5 separate regions of the Homo sapiens genome follow, and regions 1, 3, 4 and 5 are each linked to region 2. Evidence: promoter capture Hi-C in human tissues and cell types (Jung and others, 2019). All regions are on one chromosome and are shown on one strand. The core of a region is centred on a gene start or on the middle of the fragment in contact, and the rest is flanking DNA. Distances in the headings are between cores, read along the strand shown. Region 1 holds the start of NPRL3 (NPR3 like, GATOR1 complex subunit). Region 2 holds the start of CAPN15 (calpain 15). Region 3 overlaps LUC7L (LUC7 like). Region 4 holds the start of LUC7L (LUC7 like). Region 5 holds the start of POLR3K (RNA polymerase III subunit K).

Region 1 (4,650 bases), core at 3-2,502, 390 kb before region 2:
GCGACGTTCCCTTTTCCTGTGGATAGATCTGCATCTATGCACAGGGCAGACAACTCCCAACACGGCCAGGGGTGATCCCTGTGCTTGCTAGAACTGGGGGTGGCAAAGACAACTTCAGATGTTCACGTAACTTTTTTTTTTTTTTTTGAGACGGAGTCTTGCTCTGTTGCCCAGGCTGGAATCCAGTGGCGCGATCTCGGTTCACTGAAACCTCCGCCTCCCGGGTTCAAGCAATTCTCCTGCCTCAGCCTCCCAAGTAGCTAGGATTATGGGCACGCACCACCACGCTCGGCTAATTTGTTTTTTTTTATTTTTATTTTTTCAGTAGAGACAGAGTTTCAACCATGTTGGCCAGGCTGGTCTCGAACTCCTGACCTCAGGTGATCCACCCGCCTCGGCCTCCCAAAGTGCTGGGATTACCGCCACCGGCCTTGTTCGTGTAATTTTGTATTTTCTCATGATGAATACATCCCAAACTCATTTTATTTTATTTTACTTTATTTTTTAAAGGCTGGAGACTGATGAAATGTCAGCAGTAGTTGCTTTGGTGTGGTGAACAATGCATGATTTTAATTTTTTTTTTCCTTTTTCTACTTTTCAAATACTCTACAACGAGCAGATCTCGAATGCCCAGCAAAAGCTAAGCTCCGCGAGGCGGCCCTGGAATGAGGCGACCCCGGAATGAGGCGGCCCCCGCGAGCGCCAGGCCCCCGCCCAGCGCTCACTTACTTGTCTGGGACGCCGGGTGCTCCTGGCTTCTCTGGAAGGGGTACCTGAACAGCAGCTTATTGCCCCTGCTCCCCGAGCTCACCAGAATCACGCTGATGGGGCTGGTGTTGTCCCGCATCCCGCCGTGGGGCCGGGGCCGGGGGCGGAGGGGGCCAGAGGAGGACGGAGCCGGAGGCGGAGGGGGCCTGAGGAGGACGGAGCCGGAGGCGGAGGGGGCCTGAGGAGGACGAGGCGGGGACGCAGGGGGCCTGAGGAGGGCAGGGGTGGAGGCGGAGGGGGCCTGAGGAGGGCAGGGGTGGAGGCGGAGGGGGCCTGAGGAGGGCAGGGGTGGAGGCGGAGGGGGCCTGAGGAGGGCAGGGGTGGAGGCGGAGGGGGCCTGAGTAGGGCAGGGGTGGAGGCGGAGGGGGCCTGAGGAGGGCAGGGGTGGAGGCGGAGGGGGCCTGAGGAGGACAGGGGTGGTGGTGGACGCGGAGCAGCGCCACAGTTACCAACCCACGTGCCACGCTCCGGGCTCGCGAGACTTCGGCGACACCGTCCGGAGGAGGTGCTAAGGCGGCGGCCGGGAGAACGGCGCAGGCGCAGGCGCAGGCGCAGGCAGCGGAATGCGCAGGCGCGGGGCCTTCTGGAAGCCACCGAGTTCCGCGGTGCTGTCTGGAGCCGTACGGTTCGCGTTTGGGGCACAGGGGCCCCTCTTGCTGGTGCGGATGGGAAAGGCGCGGGGTCGAGTCAGCGTCCCTCTCGATGTTGGTTTCTTCGTTTTACAAATAACACTTGGGCGGGGCGCGGTGGCTCACGCCTGTAATCCCAGCATTTTGGGAGGCCGAGGCGGGCGGATCACGAGGTCAGGAGATCGAGACCATCCTAGCTAACATAGTGAAACCCCATCTCTACTAAAAATTAGAAGAAATTATCCGGGCGTGGTGGCAGGCGCCCGTAATCCTAGAGGAGAATCGCTTGAACCCGGGAGGCGGAGGTTGCATTGAGCCAAGATCACGCCATTGCACTCCACCCTGGGCGACAGAGCGACGAGACCCCGTATCAAAAAAAAAAAAAAGAAAGAAAGAAAGAAAAAAGAAAAAAAAAAGGCCGGGCGCGGTGGCTCACGCCTGTAATCCCAGCACTTTGGGAGGCCGAGGCGGGTGAATCACGAGGTCAGGAGTTCGAGACCATCCTGGCCAACATGGTGAAACCCCGTCTCTACAAAAAAAAAAAAAAAAATTAGCCGGGCGTGGTGGCGGGCGCCTGTAATCCCAGCTACTCGGGAGGCTGAGACAGGAAAATCGCTTGAACCCGGGAGGCGGAGCTTGCGGTGAGCCGAGATTGCGCCACTGCACTACAGCCTAGGCGACAGAGCGAGACTCCGTCTCAAAAAAAAAAAAAAAAAAAAAAAACACTTGGAAGCCGACAGGAGATCTTTGAGACCTTGGGCGAGGCAGTGACACTAAAGGCAGGAGCGACTACAGAAGAATAAATTAAACTTCATCAGATTAAAAACTTTACTGCGGCCGGGCGCGGTGGCTCACGCCTGAAATCCCAGCACTTTGGGAGGCCGAGGTGGGCAGATCATGAGATCAGGAGATCTAGACCATCCTGGCCAACATGGTAAAACCCCGTCTCTCTACTAAAAATACAAAAATTAGCTGGGTTTGGCGGCGCCTGCTTCTAATCCCAGCTACTCGGGAGGCTGAGGCAGGAGAATCGCTTGAAGCCGGGAGGCGGAGGTTGCAGTGAGCCGAGATCGTGCCACTGAACTCTGGCCTGGCGACAGAGCGAGACTCCATCTCAAAACAAAACAAAAACTTCGGTGCTTTAAAGGACACCATCAAGAAAATTAAAAGTCCACCCACAGAACGGGAGAAAATATTTGTAAGTTACATATCTGATAAGGGAATTGTATCTAGAATGGAGGAAACTTACAACTCAACAATAAAAAGACAATTGAAAAATGCACAAAGGATATGAATATTTTTCCAGTGCATTATGCAAATGGCCAATAAGCACCAGAAGATGCTCAGCTCAACTGGTAGAGGCTTACGCCTGTGACCCCAGCGCTGAGAGGCCAGGAACTCCAGACCAGCCTGGGCAAAACAGAAATTAAAAATGCTCAACATTATTAGGCATTAGGGAGATGCAAATCAAAACTACAAATAGATGCCACATCACACCTCCTACGATGGCTGTAATCAAAAAGACAAGCGTCAGCAGGGGTGTGGAGAAACGGGAATCTCTCTCCTGCTGGTGGGAATGTAAGAGGCTACACTCGCTATGGAAAACAGGCTGGCAGTTCCTGAAAGGTTAGAGTTAACACAACACTCGGCAAATCCCCCTTTTAGATATATAGCCAAGAGAAATGAAAGCATATGTCCACACAAAAACATGTGTGTTCTTAGTAATATTATTCATAATAGCCCAAAGTGGAAGCAATCCTAGGGTATATCAATTGATGAATGGGTGAATATGGTATAGTTTGTTTAAGGGAATACTATTCAGCCATAAAAAGGAATGAAGTACGGCACATGAATCCATCTTGAAGACACACTAATATATGATTCCATTTATATAAGATGCCCAGAATAGGCAAATCCATAGAGACAGAATGATTAGTGGCTGCCTAGGGCTTCCAGGGGGTCAGGGGAAATATGGAGCGATTCATGGGTTTTTTGAAGGGGAGTGATGAAAATGTTCTAACGTTGACTGTGGTAATGGTTGGACAGCTCTGAGAACGCGAATACACTAAAAGACATGGAAGTGCCGGGCGCAGTGGCTCATGCCTGTAATCCCAGCGCTTTGGGAGGCCAAGGCAGGCGGATCGCGAGGTCAGGAGATCGAGACCATCCTGGCTAAGACAGTGAAACCCCGTGTCTACTAAAAATACAAAAAATTAGCTGGACATGGTGCGGGCGCCTGTAGTCCCAGATACTCAGGAGGCTGAGGCAGGAGAATGGTGTGAACCCGGGAGGCGGAGCTTGCAGTGAGCCAAGATCGCACCATTGCACTCCAGCCTGGGCGACAGAGCGAGACTCCATCTCAAAAACAAAAAAAAGATATGGAAGTGTACACTTGAAGTGGATAAGCTTTATGGTATGCAAATTGGTATGGTATGGTAAATTATATCTCAATGAAGTTGTTTTTTAAAAAATCACCCCACCTACCCTATCCCAGGCTTCCCCAGGAGGTAACTAAAGGTAATGAGCTTCTTTGGCTGCTTCCAGAACTTTCCCAAGCACATCAAATGCATCAGAACCTAACCACTTGACTGAGGGATGAGCATTTTCACTGTTGCAAGTAACCCTCTTGCACCAACACTGACACTAATGTGTATTTTGCAGAACAAATTTGTGGATTGGCCTCACCAGGGTGAAGGGTACGTGCATTTGAAATGGCTCAACAGTACCAACAGGTGCGTTTTCTTGCACAGGGCTGCATAACATTTTTTTTTTTTTTTTGAGACAGAGTCTCGCTCTATCACCCAGGCTGGAGGGCAGTGGCACAATCTCAGTTCACTGCAAGCTCCACCTACCAGGTTCACATCATTCTCCTGCCTCAGCCTCCCAAGTAGCTGGGACTACAGGTGCCCGCCACCACACCAGGCTAATTTTTTTTTTTTTTTTGAGATGGAGTCTTGCTCTGTCGCCCAGGCTGGAGTGCAGTGGCACGATCTCAGCTCACTGCAAGCTCCACCTCCCAGGTTCACACCATTCTCCTGCCTCAGCCTCCCCAGTAGCTGAGACTACAGGCGCCCGCCACCACGTCCGGCTAATTTTTTTGTATTTTTAGTAGAGACGGGGTTTCACCGCGTTAGCCAGGATGGTCTCGATCTCCTGACCTCTTGATCCACCCGCCTCGGCCTCTCAAAGTGCTGGGATTACAGGCGTGAGCCACCGTGCCCGGCCTGCATAACATTTTTTTTTTTCCTGAAAT
Region 2 (5,094 bases), core at 1,631-4,130:
CCCAGCCTGCCTCTGCTGAAGGGCAGGTATAGGAAGTCTGGACCCCCTCAGCGGCCCCCCGGATGGCACCCTGGCCCCTCTACCTGCTGGCAGTCCAGTAACCTGGAGGTGGTGGCCCAGAGAAAGGCGGGAACTTCTCCCAGGGCCCCGTCCATTGTTATTTTCACCTGTCCGGCCGCCCATTCTTTTTTTGAGACGGACTCAGTCACCCAGGCTGGAGCGCCATGTGCCATCCCAGCTCACTGCAGCCTCAACCTCCCGGGCTCAAGTGATGCTCCTGCCTCTGCCTCCCAAGTAGCAGGGACCACAAGCACACACCACCACACCCTAATTATCTTTTAAGTGGAGACAGGTTTCGCTTTGTGTGTTGCCCAGGCTGGTGGTCCGTCGTCTTTTTGACCCAGGCCTGTGTGGCTCACAAAGCAGGCAATTGCAGGGTCATCCCATCAAATCTGAGCATGGCACCAGAGCACACAAGTCAGCCACCTGCGGGCCTTGGCACCCTCGTGCTCCACGCCAGGGTCCCTGTGTGCTCAAGTCTGGGCTCCATGATGGCACTGGGGTTTGTTCTGTTTGCTGCTTTGTGCGCGTGAGGCTTTCTCTGGGTGCCTGAACAGATGCCTCCAGTTTCAGTTCTTTCTGTTTGGCCCTCCCCATCCTCTTCTCCTCCAGGGGGGATTCATGGCTCGCCTCTTGGCTCTTCTGGGCACTTGGCGAGCTTCTGCGCACTTGCGTTAGCTGCTCAGGTCTGTCTGGATGTGAGAGTCGTGTCCTCAGGCCAGGAAGCACTGGCACGGAGCAGGGCTCGGTCAATGGTCTGGATAATCCAGAGTCACTTACCTTCTGCTGTGCAGTCATTTACAATTCACGCCTGTGTGCCTGATGTCTTGTGACTCAGAATCTTCAAGACAATCACAGGCTGGCCTCACGGAGGCACGAGTGACTCATTTCTCTCATCGCACCCATTCCCTCCAGCACTCTCCTTGTGCGGGGAAACCTCAGTCACCTTGAAGACGCCTCCTGAGGCCCTCTTCTGGGTGAATGGGCTTCCTCCTTCACCATGACAGGCTACTGGGGAGAGCTGGGGTGCTCCCACCCTCTCCTCACCCCAAATGGGCCTGGCCTAGCAAAACTGGCCAGAACTGGCCACTCTGCAGTGAGCTGGCAGGGCCCTCAGCATCAGATCAACAGGTTCAACTGCAGCTGCCTCTCTGGTGGGGAGGTTATAAGGCCTGCTGGCTAGACCACTGGCCCCTGGCCAGGGAGCCACCTAGGCAGTGCCAGGGAAGGACTGGGAAGGGAAGAGAACCTGCGGTCCCTGAGTGAGGCCTTGACTGCACCCTCTCCTGTGGTTCGAAAGCCACACTTGGCCAGTATCCTGCCATGCAGGTGAGGAAGCTGGGGAGGACAGGGTCCCAGAGCCTTGTCCAAGTTGCAGAGAGGAGAGCCAGCTCTCACTCTGCAGCCCTCTGTGCCCCCAGACCCCCACTGGCCCCCGGGGACACATTTCCTGCCCTTGGGATGCTTTGGCATGGATATAGTCTGGGAACAAACGGCACATCCAGCTGCCCTGCCTGTCTCCACAGAGGGGGCAGCAGACCTAGGGGGAGGTGTCCAAGACACAGGAATGAAGTGTCCTTACCAAAAGCTTCCGAGGACAGAAATAAACCCCTCCTGCCAGCTTCTGCACTGACTGCAGCTAGAAGCCGAGCTCCACGTGGGACACAGGTGTCCCTGCTGCGGCATCTCAGCATGACGGAGGCCCATCCTTGGCTTTCCTGGAGCATGAATATCCTCTGAGGAGCACTGGCCCTGGCCTTGTAGGTCTTGCTGAGACTGGCTTAGATTTTCTGGCCCAGGAGCAATCGTCACCCAACCTCCCACTTGTAAATCTCGCCACAGAATCGGCCCACAACCGTCTCTCCGGAATCTCGGCGGACCAGCCCTGCTCCTGTGTCTCCCTCTCCCGCAGAGCCACTGCCTTCTCAGGCTCCTCAAGTGCACCTAAGAGCGGGAGTCTGGCTGCCCTCAGCACTCGCGTCCCGCCCTGCAGCCTGATAAGCTTGACGCCAAGGCATTCTCCCGAGAGCCGGCCCAGCAGCTGCTGGCAGGAGAGTGGCCTCAGGGCAGCGGGAAGGGGACCTCCGGGGAGAGAATGAGGCCTGCGCAAGGGTCCTGGAAGGACCCAGGAGTCGCCCCGGCTTCCCTCCCCCAGGCCCTGGTTGGGCGCCGTGGGCCGCGTCCCAGTTGAGCCCGGCGTGGCCGTTTAATGGCGTCCCTCCGCGACCGAGGACGAAGGGGCCTAGAGAGGCTGTGCCCAAGCGACGCTGCGAGGCCAGGCCGCGTCTCGGGCCAGGGCGGTCCCCTTGCCACCGCCGCTCTTGGCCGCCAGGACCAAGCACAGCACGCAGCGTCGCGAAAGGGGCGGTCCTGGAAGGCGCGAAGGGGTCTCCGGGTCTCGCGAACACGGCGGGGTCGGGGCGGAGTCGTGGGTCCTCGGTCGAGCGGCCGCCCAGAGCCCCGCGGGACACGGACGGCCCCAGCCCGGCTCCCCGCGAGCCCCACGCGTCTGTGACGCCGCTGATGCGCAGACGCCGCGGCTGCAGGCCCCGCCCCTCCGTGCCCCTCGCAAGGCCCTCTGGGAGTTGTAGTTCCAGCTCCTCCTCGGGCCGCCCCACTCCCTGATAATCCTGGAGCGCGGCGCCTCCCGGGGACCGAGGCCTCGGGCCCGGCCGTCTCCAGCAGCGAGGGCAGGAGAAGTGGCCCGGGCGGTCGGCGGACTGGGAGGGCGCCACCCGAGGACTACAACTCCCGGCCTGCCTCGCGCAGGCACCGCCCCGAGCTTCCGCCCCGTCGGCGCCGCGCAGCCCTGTGGGAGCCGTAGTCCGGGCGCGCGATTCACAGCGCCGCGTGCGCCCCGGGCGCGCCGTAGCCGCGGGGCCCGGGCCGGGCGCTACGCTACGAAGGCAGCGTAAGGCGGGCGCCGGACGCGGGCAGGGGCCGGGGCCGGAGCCGGGTCGGGGCGCCCCGCGGCTGAGGAGCGGGAGGCCGTCCGGGCAGCGCGGCCGGCGGCGAGAGGGGCCCCGCCGCTCTCCGGAGGCAGAAGTTGTGGATCGGCCGGCGGGGGCGAGCGGGCCCGGGGGCCGGGGCCGCGCTGCCCGGGCCGCGAGGACGAGGCGGCGCCGCCGGGCTGTGGAGGTGAGTCCCGTCGGCCGGGCCCGGCCGGGCGCCCAGCCGGGGACCCCGGGCGGGGAGCGCGGGCCCGGAGGGCGGCGGGGAGCGCGGGCTCGGCGGGGCGCAGGAGGCCTCGGGGGCCGGGCGCGCCGGGCTCCGAGCCAGGGCAGGGACGGCAGGGCCCCCGGAGTGGGGTCAGCCCGCCGCCCGCTGGCGCCTCCAGGCTGGTGGGGGCCAGGGCTGGGCGATGCTTCGCAGAGGAACCCAGAGGAAGGCGGGAAGTCGGCAGGGACCTGGGCCATGTGGGTCACTTGAGGCCAGCCCCGGGGGCCGCGCACACCGGAGGCGGCCTCGGCCCTGCCTGCCCTTGAGTGCCCTTATATCCGGGCCCATCGTGCGGTCCTGGCCGCCTTAGGGATGTTGTGCTTGGTGCGGGCATCACTCCCCTCACTTGGGGAACGGCCTGGGGGCGGCCACCTGGCGTGGAGGGGCTGGCGGGAGCCCCGTCTGTGCCAGCCATGCCAGTGTTCTCTTCCGTGTTCCTCTGGGGCTGCTGCGGCACCAGCTGGGAAGTTGCAAATCTGCTGTCCTCCCGCTGGCTGCAGAAGGGGCCCCTCTAGTCCTGACCGGGGGAACTCTTGTGTGGTCAGCTGGCCCTGGCCGGGCGAGCTCTCGGGGCCCCCTTACTGCTCTGGAGTTTGTTACCGGACTGCAGGTAACAAGACCCGGAAAGCAATGGTGAGGCCCAGAACCTGAGGCCAGGCCTGGGTGTGTGGGGCCAGTGGGGAAGACTGGGACTCCGTTGGGTGCTGAAGAGTTGTGTGCTTCTCCTTCGGGAAACCCGGATCTCTTCCTCTGCCCAGGTCTGAGGGGTGCGGAAACGTGAGTCACAGTTCAGTGTGGGAGTGCCCCGTAATTGCCTCCGCGTTTCCAGAGTCTGGGGCTGGGCAAGGATATAGGGGTGATTCTCCCTTCCGGTTCTGAGTGACTTCTCAACTGTGAAGTGGGGCAAGAGAAATTGTTTTTCTGGCCTGTCTGGGGGAGGCAGGTCCTGCAGGAAACCAGCTTGGCCTGGCCTTGGGTTGGGTGTGCCTTGCCTCCTCCGAGGTCCTTCTGCTTGCGGGAGGAGCACCCCTCTTTTTCCTGCTTCTGTCTGTGTCTGAGGCTCTCCAGAGCTCCTTGATTGGCAGAGGAGCCAGTGACCTCTGAGTCCCCAGGAGAGCCCGAGGCTCAGTAACTGCATAACTGCGCAGGGCCTCTTGTCTGGGCCTCCACAGACCGTGGTCTCTGAGAGCAGGAAGTGGCTGGTCCCCTGTAATGCTGCATCTGTGTGACAGCCTCAAGCCCTGCTGGCTCTCTCTCCGGGCACCCCTCACTTGCTTCTTGCCCTGGCCTTGGGCAGCACTCCGGTAACCCCAGTGCCACAGGTGAGGAACCGAAGCTGGAGACAGCTGTTCATGGCAGGGGAGGGGCCGAGGGAGGCTGAGCGCCTGGTCTCTCCCTCCTGCTGGTTCCACCAGTTCACACGAGGCAATTGGAGGGAAGGATTCTGCTGCCCGGAAAATCCTCCGGAACCACAGGTGTTGTTCATGGGCCTGAGCCGCTCAGTGAAGAACTCGGCCGTTGGTGGCCGAGTTGCCCCTGGTCCAGCCCTCTGGCCCGCGGTGTGATGCCTCTACTCATGGCAACAGGCGTGGACAGGTGCTGAGAAGGAGGACGACATCATTAAACAAAACAGCTTGGGGTCTTTGAAAAACAGTGACAGAAACCCAGGAAGGCTGGTGACTTGTCAGGTCTGTGTCTGTCCTGGGTGGCCACTCGGCCCTGGACCGTGAGGCTGAAATGACAGGAGACACGGAGGGTGGGCTTGGGTGGTTTCCTCATAAGACACAGAAGAAGGAGGCCCCCAACCCGGGGGCT
Region 3 (4,690 bases), core at 228-2,727, 330 kb before region 2:
ACTTGGGAGGCAGAGGCAGGAGACTCGCTTGAACCCAGGGGGTGGAGGCTGCAGTGAGCCGATATCGCACCACTGCACTCCAGCCTGGTGACAGAGCGAGACCCTGTCTCAAAAACAAACACAATAAACATTCGCCCTGAGTTATGCACTGAGGAATTATTTCAGGAAAAGTGGTTTGGGAACCTTCCTGGACAATGAGCTGTCTCCAGGAGGATGTGGATACTTCTGGCTCCTACCTCTTTGAACTCCAAACAGACTCAACAGCCCCACCTCAAGATGGCCTCTCAAGCTGAGTGTGGCCAGAGGCATCTTCTACTTCCCACCTCCTCCCACTCCAATACACCACACCCAGCCTTCCAACCTCACCAAGCAGCAACTCCGGGCCAGAAACCAGGAGACCAGCTTCATTTCCTCCTCTGCACGCTTCACACACTACCAGCAAATCCCATCAGTTCTATCCCAGAACTTTCCCCGACTCCTTGCACCCCTTACCTGGCTTAAACTGCCACCTCCTCCATCTGGATTTTCCCACCTAGCTCCCCAAGGTCCTGCTGCTTCTACTCCAGCCCAGCACGCTTGCCAAAGGGGAGCAGGCACCACCCCTCCTGCGTAAACAGGTGTCCAATGGCCCCATAGCACTCAGTAAGTAAACAGCAGTGCCCACACACAGCCTCCAACAGCTTGGATCCCTTACCTGACTGCCATGCACACACAGTCCTGCGCTGGGACGTGTTTTGTTTTGTTTTGTTGGACTGAATATGCTGTTTACTTTTTTTTTTTTTTTTTTTGGTTGAGATGGAGTCTCTGTTGCCCAGGCTAGAGTGCAGTGGCACGATCTCGGCTCACTGCAACCTCTGCCTCCCGGGCTCAAGTGATTCTCCCACCTCAGCCTCCGAGTAGCTAGGATTACAGGCTCATGCCAGCACGCCCAGCTAATTTCTGTATTTTTAGTAGAGACAAGGTTTCACCATGTTGGCCAGGCTGGTCTCGAACCCCTGACCTCAAGTGTTCTGCCCGCCTCAGCCTCCCAAACTGACAGGATTACAGGCGTGAGCCGCCAGGCCTGGCCTTACTATTTTCTTTTATAACGGCCTATTGGGCAGGCCCTGCCTATTCCAAGCAACAGTGGAATGGACCGAGCAGGGAATGCCCGAGGCCAATGCAGGCCATCCAGTGCCAGCCCTCAGGCTCACCTCCTGCTCAGACGCTCCTCCCGTTCCCTCTCCTCTCTCCTCCTCAAGCGATCCTGATTTCTCTTCTCCTGCTTTTCAGCGACAGTTTTCTAAATAAATGAAACAAAAAATGAGGAAGAGCAAGTTACACAAACCAGAGTGTGAATGCTACTTAACAAATCACCTTTATATGAGCTCAGTATTGGTAATTTAAAAATTGAAGGGACACTTTTAGGAAATGGGAATACTTTTTTTTTTCTCTTTGAAACGGTGTCTCACTGTCACCAGGCTGGAGTGCAGTGGCGTGATCTCGGCTCACTGCAACTTCCACCTCGAGTTCAACCTATTCTTCTGCCTCGGCCTCCCAAGTAGCTGGGATTACAGGCACATGCCACCACACCCAACTAATTTTTGTATTTTTAGTAGAGATGGGGTTTCACCATGTTGGCCAGGATGGTCTTGATCTCTTGACCTTGTGACCCGCCTGCCTCAGCCTCCCAAAGTGCTGGGATTACAGGCATGAGCCACCGCGCCCGGCCAACACATTCATTTTTAAAACTTCTTAATGAAGAAGATAACACATGAAAAAATGCTTTATCATTACATTTTTTTTTCCTGAGACAGAGTCCGCCCTGTTGCCCAGTGCAGTGGCGCGATCTTTGCTCACTGAAGCCTCTGCCTCCTGGGTTCAAGCGATTCTTCTGCCTCAGCCTCCTGAGTAGCTGGGATTACAAGCGTGCCAGCACGGCCGGCTAATTTTTGTATGTTTAGTAGAGACGGGGTTTCACCATGTTGGTCTGGCTTGTCGCAAACTCCTAACCTTGTGATATGCCTGCCTCGGCCTCCCAAAGTGCAGCAATTACAGGCGTGAGGCACTGCACCCGGCCTCGTTTACATTTACTTTTTTTTTTTTTTTGAGACGGAGTCTCGCTCTGTCACCCAGGCTGGAGTGCAGTGGCGCAATCTCGGCTCGCCGCAAGCTCCGCCTCCCGGGTTCACGCCATTCTCCTGTCCTGGCCTCCGGAGTAGCTGGGATTACAGGCGCCCGGCACTGCGCCCGGCTAATTTTTTGTATTTTTAGTAGAGACAGAGTTTCACCATGTTAGCCAGGATGGTCTCGATCTCCTGACCTCACGATCCGCCCGCCTCGGCCTCCCACAGTGCTGGGATTATAGGCATGAGCCACCGCGCTTGGCCACTTTTTTTTTTTTGAAACAGGGTCTTGCTCTGTCCACCCAGGCTGGATGGAGTGCAGTGGCGCAATCACAGCTCACCGGAGCCTTGACCTCCCAGGCTCAAGCAAGCCTCTTTAGCTCCGCCTCCTGAGTAGCTGGGACTATAGGCGTGTGCCACCATGGCAGACTAATCTTTAAACATTTTTTATGGAGATGGAATCTTGCTATGTTGCCCAGGCTGAGCTTGAACTCCTCAACTCAAGCAATCCTCCTGCCTTGGCCTCCCAAAGTGCTGGGGTTACAGGCCTGAACCACCCAGCCTATCATTAGATTTTAACAATGTGGTAACAAACTGTCTATTCTAAGTGGTGCTATACTTCTAACTCACAGGGAATTGATCACATTGTTTCAAACCAACCCAGATAGGTAGGAGACTGTACAAACTTTATGGTAAAAAAGGACGGATGTATCTCATCAAACACATCTTGCTACTGGGAGCAGAATCCCTACAGCCAAAAAGCAGCCCAACCTCAGGGTGCTGGGTGCTACGCTGGCTTTAGAACAAACTGAGTTGGAGGACAGCAGGCCAGGGGAGGTGGACCACAAATCCTCTGCAACTGGCTTTCAACACAGGATGATGTGAATCATCAGGCTTGATGAAGAAAGCAATATAAGGGGATGAGAAACCTCGCCAATGAAAATACCGTCAACACAAGCTGAGTGGAAAAGCACCGGGCACCGTTCTGTATACCCACTACTCCCAATATCAACTCTAAGACATTTAATGCCCCTCATCTGTGTCAAGTGAAGCCCTGAGTGGGAGCAAGTCAGAGCCAGTAAGACAAAGAATCACGAGTCTTCTCCATCCAGAGAGCCACGATGGCATAAGGATAATCTTCCATACCCAGTGTGGATGAGAGCACGCTCCCCACAAGGGCACGGAAAGTATGCAGAGCTGGGTGACTGGTATCTCCAGCTCTAAACTTTCACCCATGCTCATCCTGTGTCTGAAGCAGGGCACACATGGATGGACACCTTTAAGGTGATGTTTAAGGATGGCATTTAAGCCAGGTACGGTGGCTCATGCCATTTCAGCACTCTGGGAGGCTGAACTGGGAGGATCATGTGAGGACAGGAGTTTGAGACCAGCCTGGGAAACATAGTAAGACCTCCTACCTAAAAAAAAAAAATGAGCCAGATATGGTGGTGCATGCCTGTAGTCTCTGCTACTCAGGAGACTCAGGATGCAGGGCCACTTGAGTCCAGGAGTTCCAGGTTACAGTGACAATAAGCTATCAGCTACCATCACATCAGTACACTCCACCCTGGGTGCCAGAGGGAGACCCTGTCTCTGAAAAAAAAAACGAAAAAAATCCTCTGTTGTCTAGGTTGGAGTGTAGTGTCGTGATCACAGTTCACTGCAGCCTTGAGCTCCAAGGTCCAAACAATCCTCTTACCTCAGCCTCCTGAGTAGCTGGACCTACAGGCACACACCACCATGCTTGGCTAATTTTTAAATTTTTGGTAGAGACAGGGTCTCCTTATGTTGCCCACGCTGGTCTCAAACTCCTGGATTCAATCGATTCTCCTGCCTTGGCCTCCTAAAGACTGGAATTACAGGCGTGAGCCACCACACCCAGCCTCAAGGATGGCAGTTTTTAAAAAAATTAAGGATTAGCCAGGTGCAGTGGCTCATGTGTAATCCCAGCACTCTGGGAGGCCTAGGAAGGTGGATACCTCTGGGACTACTGTGAGTGAGGCCTCCTCTAACTAGGGCACAGAACTCCCACTCTCCCTATCATTAAGAGGTGCACTTCCAAATACATTGTGCACTGTTACTTTAATAATTATTTATCAAAGTCTGTAATACGAGTTGTGTTGTTTTGGTCAACTCTATGCTGCAATGATAAAACAAGCTTTCTAACCAAGTTAATGCTTCTTAAGGTAGAAGGGAAAAACATTTCACAATATTCACATTTCTAATGCAGAGATACACATTAAGGAAATAAAAGATTGCAGATATTAAAAAAAAAATACTACATTAGGGCCAAGCACTGTGGCCCACGCCTGTAATCCCAGCACTTTGGGAGGCCGAGACAGGTGGATCACCTGAGCTCAGGAGTTCGAGATCAGCCTGAGCAACACGGTGAAACCCCATCTCTACTAAAAACACAAAAATGAGCCAGGCATGGTGGTGCACGCCTATAGTACCAGCTACTTGGAGGGCTGAGGCAGGAGTATCTCTTGAAGCTGGGAGGTGGAGGTTACAGTGAGCTGAGTTCGTTACACTGCACTCCAGCCTGGGTGACAGAGCAAGACCCTGCCTCAAACAAACAAACAAAC
Region 4 (4,912 bases), core at 791-3,290, 300 kb before region 2:
TTCACCTGGATGATTTGCAGACTATCATTTCTGTGTTCTCCCCATCAAATGCAATGAAAAGCTGATCTAAAGATATTTACAACTGGAGTGGAATACACATTTTTTTGAGGCTAGTTATATCATGGAGAATCACACTTAATGAGATCTGACTCCATCACTGTACCAAAGAAGTCAAGGAGTCAGACGTAAACAGCTGAGCACCAAAAGGCCATTGGCTCCACATATACATGTGGCAATGAGACTGCAAAACCCAAGCTAATCAGAGGTCCATGAACCACCAAGGGTGACTTATAGAGCTGGTAATTTCCACCAACAAAAGCTACTTATTAATCTAATCTTTTTGTTATGAACAAATGCAGAGGCAGTATTTTGCCCAAAATTGAATGAAGAAGAAAGCTTTCAAACTCTATCGAAGACTGTTAAATAATCTAGATCTATTCTTCCTACGTCCCTTTCGTTCCCACCCTTAAAAAAGAGAGTTGCTACCTGGGAGTCACTTTTAACAAGACAATACCAAAAAAAGCAAAAAAGGAACTAGGTTAGTCAATACACACTGTGAGCTCCAACACATACTGTACCCATCTGCATTCTTCAAGACCTCAGCTGCAGAATTTTATGCCCGCTGTTGAAAAGTGTTAAAGGAAAAGTTTTCTTGCCCACACCTGCAGTAAGGAAGTCGGGGGAATGATACATAAAAGTAAAGGTAAAGTGGTATGTGACAAATTTTAAAGCTAGTCTGTGTATACAACACAGAGCTGTGCAACGCTAGAGGAGGAATATATTTTAGGATTTGCAAGCATCCAGGATTAATGTAGTGTCTTTTTATTGAAAATGTTTTCTTTCTAAACTACACTTTTAAAGTTACTTGTGAAAAAAAGCAAACACTTTTTTGTTATAACAGCTTAGAAATTGGTTGTGACTCACGGCTCGATGAACATGAGGCTTTCTGCAACTCCCTTGCAGATTGATGTAGGCAGGCAAAGATACACTGAACCTTTATAAATAAAATAGAGGGGCCACAATTGTTCAGTTTGTATGAAATAAAAATATGGGAAGCAATTCAAAAGCAACTCAATATACAAAGAAAGCTAAAAAGCACTTATTCACCTATGAAATAAAGTGCAAATAATCTGCACAGCCCTGAGAATGTGCCAGTGTGAACTTACAACTTCATTACTCAGCAGAAAAGAAAACACAAACCACAGCAGGTATATAGTTTTGCAAAGATGCAACCGCTTTCTCCTGTGACAACCATCATGATCTTGAGCTCCTCCCTACACAGTACAACCTACCTAACGACTGTCAAGCGCTGGCTACACAGAGGCTCTCCTGTGTGCTGGGGGGAAGGGGGCAGCTGGAAAAGTACTTGGCAGAAACCCACGTTAGAAAAGCTCAGTTTACGGTTCCCCTTGCAATGGTACAGAACCAGAGCGGGCCAGGTTTTCGAGGCCCATCCGGCTCCCTCGGGTGTAGCTTCTTCCCAAGGAGCCTCGGAAGAGTTCTGCCACCCGGCTGCCAGCGACCTGGAGCCCACGCTGATTCCAGCCCTCCGCCGACTCCACAGTTCGCGGAGGGGCACGGAGCCGCGGCGCCCGCCGGGGAGGAAGTAGCAGGACGGTACATAGGAAGGAGGCTGAAGCCCCATCCATGGCGCAGACTCCGAGAGAGGAGCCCGACCTGGACCCACGGCCGCCTCAGAGACGCACCGGCTTAGACAAAGGCCCGGCGCCTGCGGTCGGAGCGCGGGGGAGGAGGAGCGATGCCCCGCGCAGGCGCAGGCGCAGACGATCGCGGCCCCCGCCTCAGGCCGCCCGGCGGCCTCGCCTCACTCCCACCCCAGACCCTCGCCTGGTTGGCCGCTCTGACTCACCGTCCCGAGCCGTGCCCATGAGCTGGTCCAGCAGGGCCCGCATCTGCGCCTGGGCGGACATGGTAGCCGGCGGAGGCGACGGGGTCGGCCGCGACGACTTCTCTCAGGCAGGCGGTGGCAGCGGCGTCGACAAACGATGGTCGCGTCGGCCTCGAGCCCACTCGGCTCTTTCCCGCCGCGGGGGACGCCGGGAGGAAGTACGACGGCGCCGGCGCACGCCCTGCTGGGAAATGTAGTTTCTGGGGTGGGTGCTTAGGGAGGCTGAGGCTCTGAGTGGTCGCAAGTTGTCCAACGGCGGAACCAAAATCCCAACCCTGATTTTACTCTAGACCCCCAGGACCTCAAACGAGTCTCTACGGAGGGTAAACTACAATAAAATGAAATACAGTCAATCAAAAACAAGATGAATCCGTGCTTTTTCTAAGCTAGCCATGAAACCGTGAGCATATTATTTAGCTCCCCGACGCTCGTTTTTTTAAATCTGTGAAATGAGGGTTCTAAAGGTGCCCCTCATATGATTTTTGTGAAAGTTAAATAAAGCATGGAATTTTATTTATTTATTTATTTATTTATTTAGAGCGAGGGTCTTGCTCCGTCGCCCAGGCTGGAATGCAGTGGCGCGATTACCGCTCACTGCAGCCTCGACCTCCCCGGCTCCTTATCCTCCCGCCTCAGCCCGGCAAAGTATTGGGATTACTGGTGTGAACCACCACGTTTGGCCATCAGTCATGGCATTAATATTAGGTTCTATGATTACAACCTCGTGGTCGTCCTTTTGTGAGCTCATGGTCTACTGTCCCAGGGACTAAAGAAAAGGCATATGTAAGCAGTTATTTTATGTGATAATAGAATTATAGCATGCACTTATGTGTGCATAGTCTGGCATATACTTCTATTATATTAAACCTCTATTATTTATTTATTTATTTTTGAGACGGAGTTTCGCCCAGGCTAGAGTGCAATGGCGCGATCTTGGCTCTCCGCAACCTCCGCCTCCTGGGTTCAAGCGATTCTCCTGCCTCAACCTCCCAAAGTGCTGGGATTACAGGCATGAGCCACCACGCCCGGTCTTTATTTTTTATTTGTTTATTTTTTTTTTGAGACGGAGTCTTGCTCTGTCACCCAGGCTGGAATGCTGTGGCGCGATCTCGGCTCACTGTAAGCTCCGCCTCCCGGGTTGAAGCGATTCTCCTGCCTCAGTCTCCCCAGTAGCTGGAATTTCAGGCGCCCGCCACCCCCTCCGGCTAATTTTTGAATGTTAAGTAGAGACGGGGTTTCACCATGCTGGCCAGGCTGGTCTCAAAGTCTTGACCTCAAGTAGCCAGCCACCATGCCCAGCTGATTTTTGTATTTTCGGTAGACACGGTGTTGTACCGTATTGGCCAGGCTGGTCTTGAACTTCTGACCTTGTGATCTGCCTGCCTCGGCCTCCCAAAGTGCTGAGATTACAGGCGTGAGCCACCGCGCCCTGCCGTATTTTATTTATTTTTGAGACGGAGTCTCCCTCTGTCGCCCAGCCTGGAGTGCAGTGGCGCGATCTCGGCTTCCTGCATCCTCTGACTCCTGGGTTCAAGCGATTCTCTTGTCTCAGTCTCCCCAGTAGCTGGGATTACAGGCACCCGCCATCATTCCCGACTAACTTTTTTTTTGTACTTTTGCAGAGACGGGGTTCCGCCATGTTGGCCAGGCTGGTCTTAAACTCCTAACCTCAGGTGATCCGCCCACCTCAGCCTCCCAAAGTCCTCGGATTACAGCTGTGAGCCAGAACGCCAGGCCCCTGCTCTCTATTTAAAATAAATAAATAGGGTGTCCGTTGGGCTGCTCGGGTCGGATTCCGCGGTGCCAGCCCTTCCCCATGGCCGACCCTGAGAAGTTGCAGGTTTCTTCGCCGCCCCCGCCGCCTCCTTCTCCCTCCTCTTCAGACGCCTCTGCAGCATCTTACCCTGGCAGCCCAGTGAGTTTGGGCTGGCCAGTTCCGAGCAGGAGCAGCGGCCGAACGGTGGACCCGCTGGAGGAAGTGGGGCTGCAGATCGGAGACGCAGCCTTTTCATTAACCAAACTTCTTGAAGCCACATCTGCAGTATCAGCTCAAGTGGAAGAACTTGCCTTCAAATGTACAGAAAAGGCACGTTTCCTTAAAACGTGGCGGGACCTATGGAAAGAAGGCTATGATTCTTTGAAACCTGATGACTAATTTGGCATACTTCGTTGTTTAATAATGACTGCAATAATTCATACTTCTTCTTATGTCATATTTGTACGTGTACCACACGTATAGGATGACCTCTGTCCAGCAGTTCTGTATATACTCAGAATGAATTTTTTCTTGGTTTTCTTGGCTTTTCTGAAAGCAGAATACCGATGCTATTTTTGTTGCGGACCAGTACTTGTTTGTCCTTACATACTTCATGCCTCTGAACTTTCGTAGAATCCTTTATGAAAGTTAACTTCATCAATAGATGGTTAATATTAATAGAGCCACAGGGCTACCAGCAGCAAACTAGGTGGACCATTATTTGTTTTGAAACAAGATGCTAAGCATGGCAGAGTTTGAAGTTGCATTTCATCTTAAGGACCAAGGGAGGTAACTTTAAGGTTGCCAGTGGTGGATCCAGCTCCATTAGGCTACGTTGTCTACAGCTAATGATTGTGCTTCATTCTGTATCCCCAGCACCTAAAACAGGGTCACACAACACTCACTGTTGGTTGAATACAAGAATTAACAAACATAAAAATAAATAAATAAATATAGGCCGGGTGTGGTGGCATGTGCCTCTAGTCCCAGCCACTCGAAGCTGAGGTTGGAGGATGGATTGAGCCTGGGTGGTTGAGGTTGCAGTAAGCTGTGATCACACCACTGCATGGCAGCCTGGGCAAAAGAACGAGACCCTGTCTTGGCCAGGCACGGTGGCTCACACCTGTGATCCCAGCACTTTGGGAGGCCAAAAAAAAAAAAAAAGAATGAGACCCTGTCTCAAAAATGAAATTAAAACTTAAAAAACATGCCAGGCTGGGGGCAGTGGCTCATGCCTGTAATCCCAG
Region 5 (4,660 bases), core at 2,161-4,660, 470 kb before region 2:
ATCCGCCCGCCTCGGCCTCCCAAAGTGCTGAGATTGCAGGCGTGAGCCACCACACCCAGCCTATATGTTCTTTTATAGGGGGAAAACCACAGTACTAACCATCAGTTATCTCTCTCACCTCTCAATATAACTTACATTTACGTCTTCCCCTTTCCTCTCCTGGCCACATCTATGTCTACCAGACATGCAATAAACATGTATTTTACCCAATCTGCAGTTTAATGCTCACTGGTATTAACTTCTAAAAATCTATATTAGAAGCGTGTATTAGTCCGTTCTCACACTGCTATGAATACCTGAGACTGGGTAATTTATATAGACAAAAGGGGTTTTGTTTGTTTTGAGACAGAGTCTCACTCTTGTCACCGAGGCTAGAGTGCAGTAGTGTGATCTCGGCTCACTGCAACCTCTGCCTCCTGGGTTCAAGCAATTCTCGTACCTCAGCCTCCTGAGCAGTTGGGTCTACAGGCGAGCGCCACCACACCCGGCTAATTATTTTATCTTTAATAGAGACAGGGTTTCACCATGCGGGCCAGGCTGGTCTGGAACTCCTGACCTCAAGTGATCTGCCTACCTTGGCCTCCCAAACTGCTGGGATTTACAGGCGTGAGCCACGACACCCAGCCAAGAAAAGAGGTCTAATTTACTCACAGTTCTGCGTGGCTGGGGATGCCTCAGGAAACCTACAATCATGGCGAAAGGAACCTCTTCACAGAGCAGCAGGAGACAGAATGAGTGCGAGCAGGGGAAACGCAAACGCTTATAAAACGATCTGATCTTGTGAGAACTCACTCACTATCAGGAGAACAGCATGGGGGGAAACCGCTCCCATGATTCAATTACCTCCCACTGGGCCCCTCCCAGGACACCTGGGGATTACGGAAACTATAATTCAAGATGAGATTAGGGTGGAGACACAGCCAAACCATATCAAACAGAAAGAACATACTTTTTTCCTTAGACTCTTATTTTTATTAATCTACTCATCATTGCCATTATCAAAGCTATCACCTGTTGAGTGCCTCTTATATACCAAGCACGGTATAATTCACTTTATGCTCTCGCGGTCTACGAATATGGATTAGCCCCAGAGAAGTCAAGAGACCCAAGGAAGGTCCTACAACAATACAAGGTTGCCCTGAGAATCTGACCCGGGCCTGTATGACTCCAAGGCTGGCACAAATATTGCTTGTCTGACAGATTATTAAACAGTAACAAATACAAATAAATTATTCAAGAACCATTTTCTATTTTTAGAAACCTACATCATTTATATGACATCATAGACTCTGCCAAGCAGTGGCATCAACAGCCTCATAATTATCCACAGTTTAGCAACAGAAACAGTTTTCCCTCTTACCTGCAGTAGAGTCAACATTCTCCCAGGCAGCTGCTCCACCAAGCACATCATCCACTTCTTTCAGTTTTGGGTACTTCCGATTTGTTACCTAACAAAAACAACACTTCAGACTCCAAGTAACTGAATAGCGCAAACCTGGGCTGCCAAACCTTAAATTTCAGGATTACATAAGAGTTCACTCGGCTGGGCGTGGTGGCTGACACCTGTAATCCCAGCACTTTGGGAGGCCAAGACGGGCGGATCACGAGGTCAAGAGATCGAGACCATCCTGGCTAACACGGTGAAACCCTGTCTCTACTAAAAATACAAAAAATTAGCCCGGCGTGTTGGCGGGCGCCTGTAGTCCCAGCTACTCAGGAGGCTGAGGCAGGAGAATGGTGTGAACCTGGGAGGCGGAGCTTGCAGTGAGCCGAGATCACACCACTGCACTCCAGCCTGGGCTACGGAGCAAGACTCCATCTCAAAAAAAAAAAAAAACAAAGAGTTCACTCTTCCCGTAGTTTCAAACTCCAAACTCCCACAACACAGTACAAACTGGAGTAGCATGCAAACATTAAGACTGACGTAGCACCAACATATTCTAACTGCTAAAAAGTAAAGGTATTCTGGCCAGGCGTGGTGGCTCACGCCTATAATCCCAGCACTTTGGGAGGCCAAGGCAAGCGGATCACCTGAGGTTGGGAGTTCGAGACCAGCCTGGCCAGCGCGGTGAAACCCCGTCTTTACTAAAAATACAAAAATTAGCCGGGGATGGTGGCAGGCGCCTGTAATTCCAGCTACTCGGGAAGCCGAGGCAGAAGAATTGCTTGAACCCGGGAGGCAGAGGTTGCAGTGAGCCGAGATTACGCCATTGCACTCCAGCCTGGGAAACAGAGCGAGACTCTGTCTCAAAAAAAAAAAAAAAAAAAAAAAAAAAAAAAAAAAAAAAAAGGTCGGGCGCGGTGGCTCACGCCTGTAATCCCAGCACTTTGGGAGGCCGAGGCGGGCAGATCACGAGGTCAGGAGACCGTCCTGGCTAACACACGGTGAAACCCCATCTCTACTAAAAATACAAAAAAATCAGCCAGGGGTGGTGGCGGACGCCTGTAGTCCCAGCTAATTGGGAGGCTGAGGCAGGAGAGTGGCGTGAACCCGGGAGGCAGAGCTTGCAGTGAGCCGAGATCGCGCCACTGCACTCCAGCCTGGGCGACAGAGCGGGACTCCGTCTCAAAAAAAAAAAAAAAAAAAAAAAAAAAAAACAATAAAAAAAAATAAAGAAAGCACACAATACATTACATAATATATTAGAAGGTAATAAGCCCTATGGAAACAATTACAAAGGGAAGGAGAATAAATTGGAAGGAGGGGCTGAAATTTAAAATACGGTAAAGACAAGACCAATGAGTAAGGTGGCGATCTAGGGGAAGAGTGAACTGAGCAACAGCAAGTGCAAAGGCCCTGCTAGCACCATGAGCACGATGAGAGATCGTCCAGGAGGCGGTGTTGATGCGGCAAAGGGCAACAGGAAGGGCATTAGGACTTGAAATCGGAGACGCACGCAGGGGAGGGAGTCAGTGTCGGAACCTGGTAGGCCCTGGGAGAACTCCGGCTTTTCGTCTGCGTGAGCTGGAGAAGAGCCGAAGGTTTCTGCGCACAGCACGGACCTGCGTGCCTCAGCTTTAAGGAAATCACCGTGGCCGCCGCTGTGAACGCAGAGAAGGGCGCGAGCGTGGGAGCAGGAACCCAAGGCGGTGGGAAACGGTGGGGCTTTCTGAGTGTATTGGAAAGTAGAGCCCACAGATCTGCTGCAGACCAGAAAGGGGCGCGAGAAAGAGCGGACAGAGGCAGACGCCGGGGCTGGCGGCGATGGAGCAGCAGTCGGAGGACGCGGAAGGCCTGCGAGAGTCGCCCGCGCCCAGCGCCGGCCTTCGGGTCCCACCTTGCGGGTGATGTTGTGCACGTAGGGGCACGTGTTGCAGGCGAAGCGGTGGCAGCGTTGTCCCTCCTCCACGATCAGCCCGTTCCCGCAGCCGGGGCAGAACAGCAGCATGGTCTCGAACTCCGCAGGCTCCAACTCCCGGCAGCTCCCACTGCCGCTCAGCGCCGATGCGCCGCCCGCCTCGAGCTCACATTGGTCCTGGCAGCCTTCCCGCCACACCAACCAACCAATAGACAGGGCGATTCTGCGCTCCCGGCCCTGCTGCAGGCTGTCTCGCACTTGTCATTGGTCACTGCAGCCGCCCCACCCCCCCCGGCGCGCCAGTGGCTGGGCGGCCTCGCTGGGGCGGGCCGCAGTTCCTGCGCGTGCGCGCTTGGCCTCCCTAGTGCGGGCTGGCAGTGCGGGCAGAGCCCGGCTGAGAGGGGCGGCCCTGGAGGAGACGGAGGCCGCGGGTGGGCCCGAGGCGCAAGAGGAAGATGAGGACGAAGAAGAGGCGCTGCCGCACTCCGAGGCCATGGACGTGTTCCAGGAGGGTCTGGCTATGGTGGTGCAGGACCCGCTGCTCTGCGATCTGCCGATCCAGGTGTGTGCGGGCGGGGGCTGGGGGCGCGGGAGTCGTTCCCCGGGGTCCGGGCATCCGGGCGCCGGCAGCCTCCGAAGGTGCTGGTGGGAGACTGCGGCCCAAGGCTGAGGAAGGCGCCTCTGGGCGTAAACGAGGGTTTTAACCTTGACCGGGCGCACTCGCCTGGGGCGCGAAGCTTAAAGAGGAACCAAAAACCTCATTAGTGAGTGACATCAAATGACATTTTAATGTAATTGTATTTAGGGGGCTCGGGGGACAGGGTCTTGCTGCGTTGCCCGGGCTGGAGTGCAGCGGCGTCCTCCCACCTCAGCCTCCCGAGTAATTGGGACCACAGGTGCGCGCTACCACACCCGGCTAATTTTTAAATATTTTGTACAGAGGGAGTCTCACTATGTTGCCCAGGCTGATCTGAAACTCCTGGGCTCAGGCGATCCTCCTGCCTCGGCCTCCCAAAATGCTGGGATTTAGGTGTGAGCCACCCGCCTGGCCTGTAATACCTTTAAAAGTCAAAGTTGAGGCAAAAAAAGAGCCTACGGTAAAAGAAAAATTTAGTTTTAAATAAGAGCAAGATTAGTAGTACTGATTGTTCCATTTGCCTCAAGCGTCAATCATGTGTCAAAGCGTCAGTATCATGCTTTGGGACGATACTGTCTTTTTATTTATTTATTTATTTATTTGAGACTGAGTCTTGGTCCGTTGCCAGGCTGGAGTGTAGTGGTGCCATCTCGACTCACTGCAACCTCCCCCTCCCGGGTTCACTACAGGCACGCGCCACCACGCCCGGCTAATTTTTTGTATT

What was found. The method cuts DNA at HindIII sites, captures the fragments that hold promoters and counts their contacts. A contact is called where the count stands out against the background at its distance.
Region 1: a contact is called between the fragment with the promoter of NPRL3 here and the fragment with the promoter of CAPN15 in region 2, in 2 of the 25 tissues and cell types used here (dorsolateral prefrontal cortex and lymphoblastoid cells).
Region 3: a fragment that was not itself captured here is called in contact with the fragment with the promoter of CAPN15 in region 2 in 1 of the 25 tissues and cell types used here (lymphoblastoid cells).
Region 4: the fragment with the promoter of LUC7L here is called in contact with the fragment with the promoter of CAPN15 in region 2 in 5 of the 25 tissues and cell types used here (bladder, dorsolateral prefrontal cortex, lymphoblastoid cells and 2 more).
Region 5: the fragment with the promoter of POLR3K here is called in contact with the fragment with the promoter of CAPN15 in region 2 in 2 of the 25 tissues and cell types used here (heart right ventricle and lymphoblastoid cells).

What each region holds. Positions count from the first base shown.
Region 1 is chr16:137,421-142,070 of GRCh38, forward strand. It overlaps NPRL3 (NPR3 like, GATOR1 complex subunit), which reads right to left and starts at 1,253. Exons shown (of 14, transcript NM_001077350.3): 1 at 1,222-1,253; 2 at 730-914. The coding sequence starts at 847. RefSeq lists a silencer at 683-912 and an enhancer at 1,133-1,182. The HindIII fragment of the contact is 17,392 bases long and covers 1-4,650 here.
Region 2 is chr16:524,832-529,925 of GRCh38, forward strand. It overlaps CAPN15 (calpain 15), which reads left to right and starts at 2,881. Exons shown (of 14, transcript NM_005632.3): 1 at 2,881-3,198. It overlaps LINC00235 (long intergenic non-protein coding RNA 235), which reads right to left and starts at 2,576. Exons shown (of 1, transcript NR_024121.1): 1 at 2,016-2,576. RefSeq lists an enhancer at 1,440-2,001. The HindIII fragment of the contact is 8,144 bases long and covers 1,856-5,094 here.
Region 3 is chr16:191,734-196,423 of GRCh38, forward strand. It overlaps LUC7L (LUC7 like), which reads right to left. Exons shown (of 10, transcript NM_201412.3): 7 at 1,194-1,282. Among named protein-coding and RNA genes, the nearest start is that of HBQ1, 14 kb to the left of the region's middle. The HindIII fragment of the contact is 8,652 bases long and covers 1-4,690 here.
Region 4 is chr16:227,409-232,320 of GRCh38, forward strand. LUC7L (LUC7 like) reads right to left here and starts at 2,041. Exons shown (of 10, transcript NM_201412.3): 1 at 1,871-2,041. The coding sequence starts at 1,931. It also overlaps the pseudogene C4orf46P1. RefSeq lists a silencer at 1,655-1,884 and an enhancer at 1,717-2,413. The HindIII fragment of the contact is 19,974 bases long and covers 1-4,912 here.
Region 5 is chr16:50,198-54,857 of GRCh38, forward strand. It overlaps POLR3K (RNA polymerase III subunit K), which reads right to left and starts at 3,411. Exons shown (of 3, transcript NM_016310.5): 1 at 3,279-3,411; 2 at 1,361-1,448. The coding sequence starts at 3,389. It overlaps SNRNP25 (small nuclear ribonucleoprotein U11/U12 subunit 25), which reads left to right and starts at 3,631. Exons shown (of 5, transcript NM_024571.4): 1 at 3,631-3,861. The coding sequence starts at 3,820. RefSeq lists enhancers at 2,677-3,203, 2,932-3,091 and silencers at 3,422-3,741, 3,882-3,981. The HindIII fragment of the contact is 23,499 bases long and covers 1-4,660 here.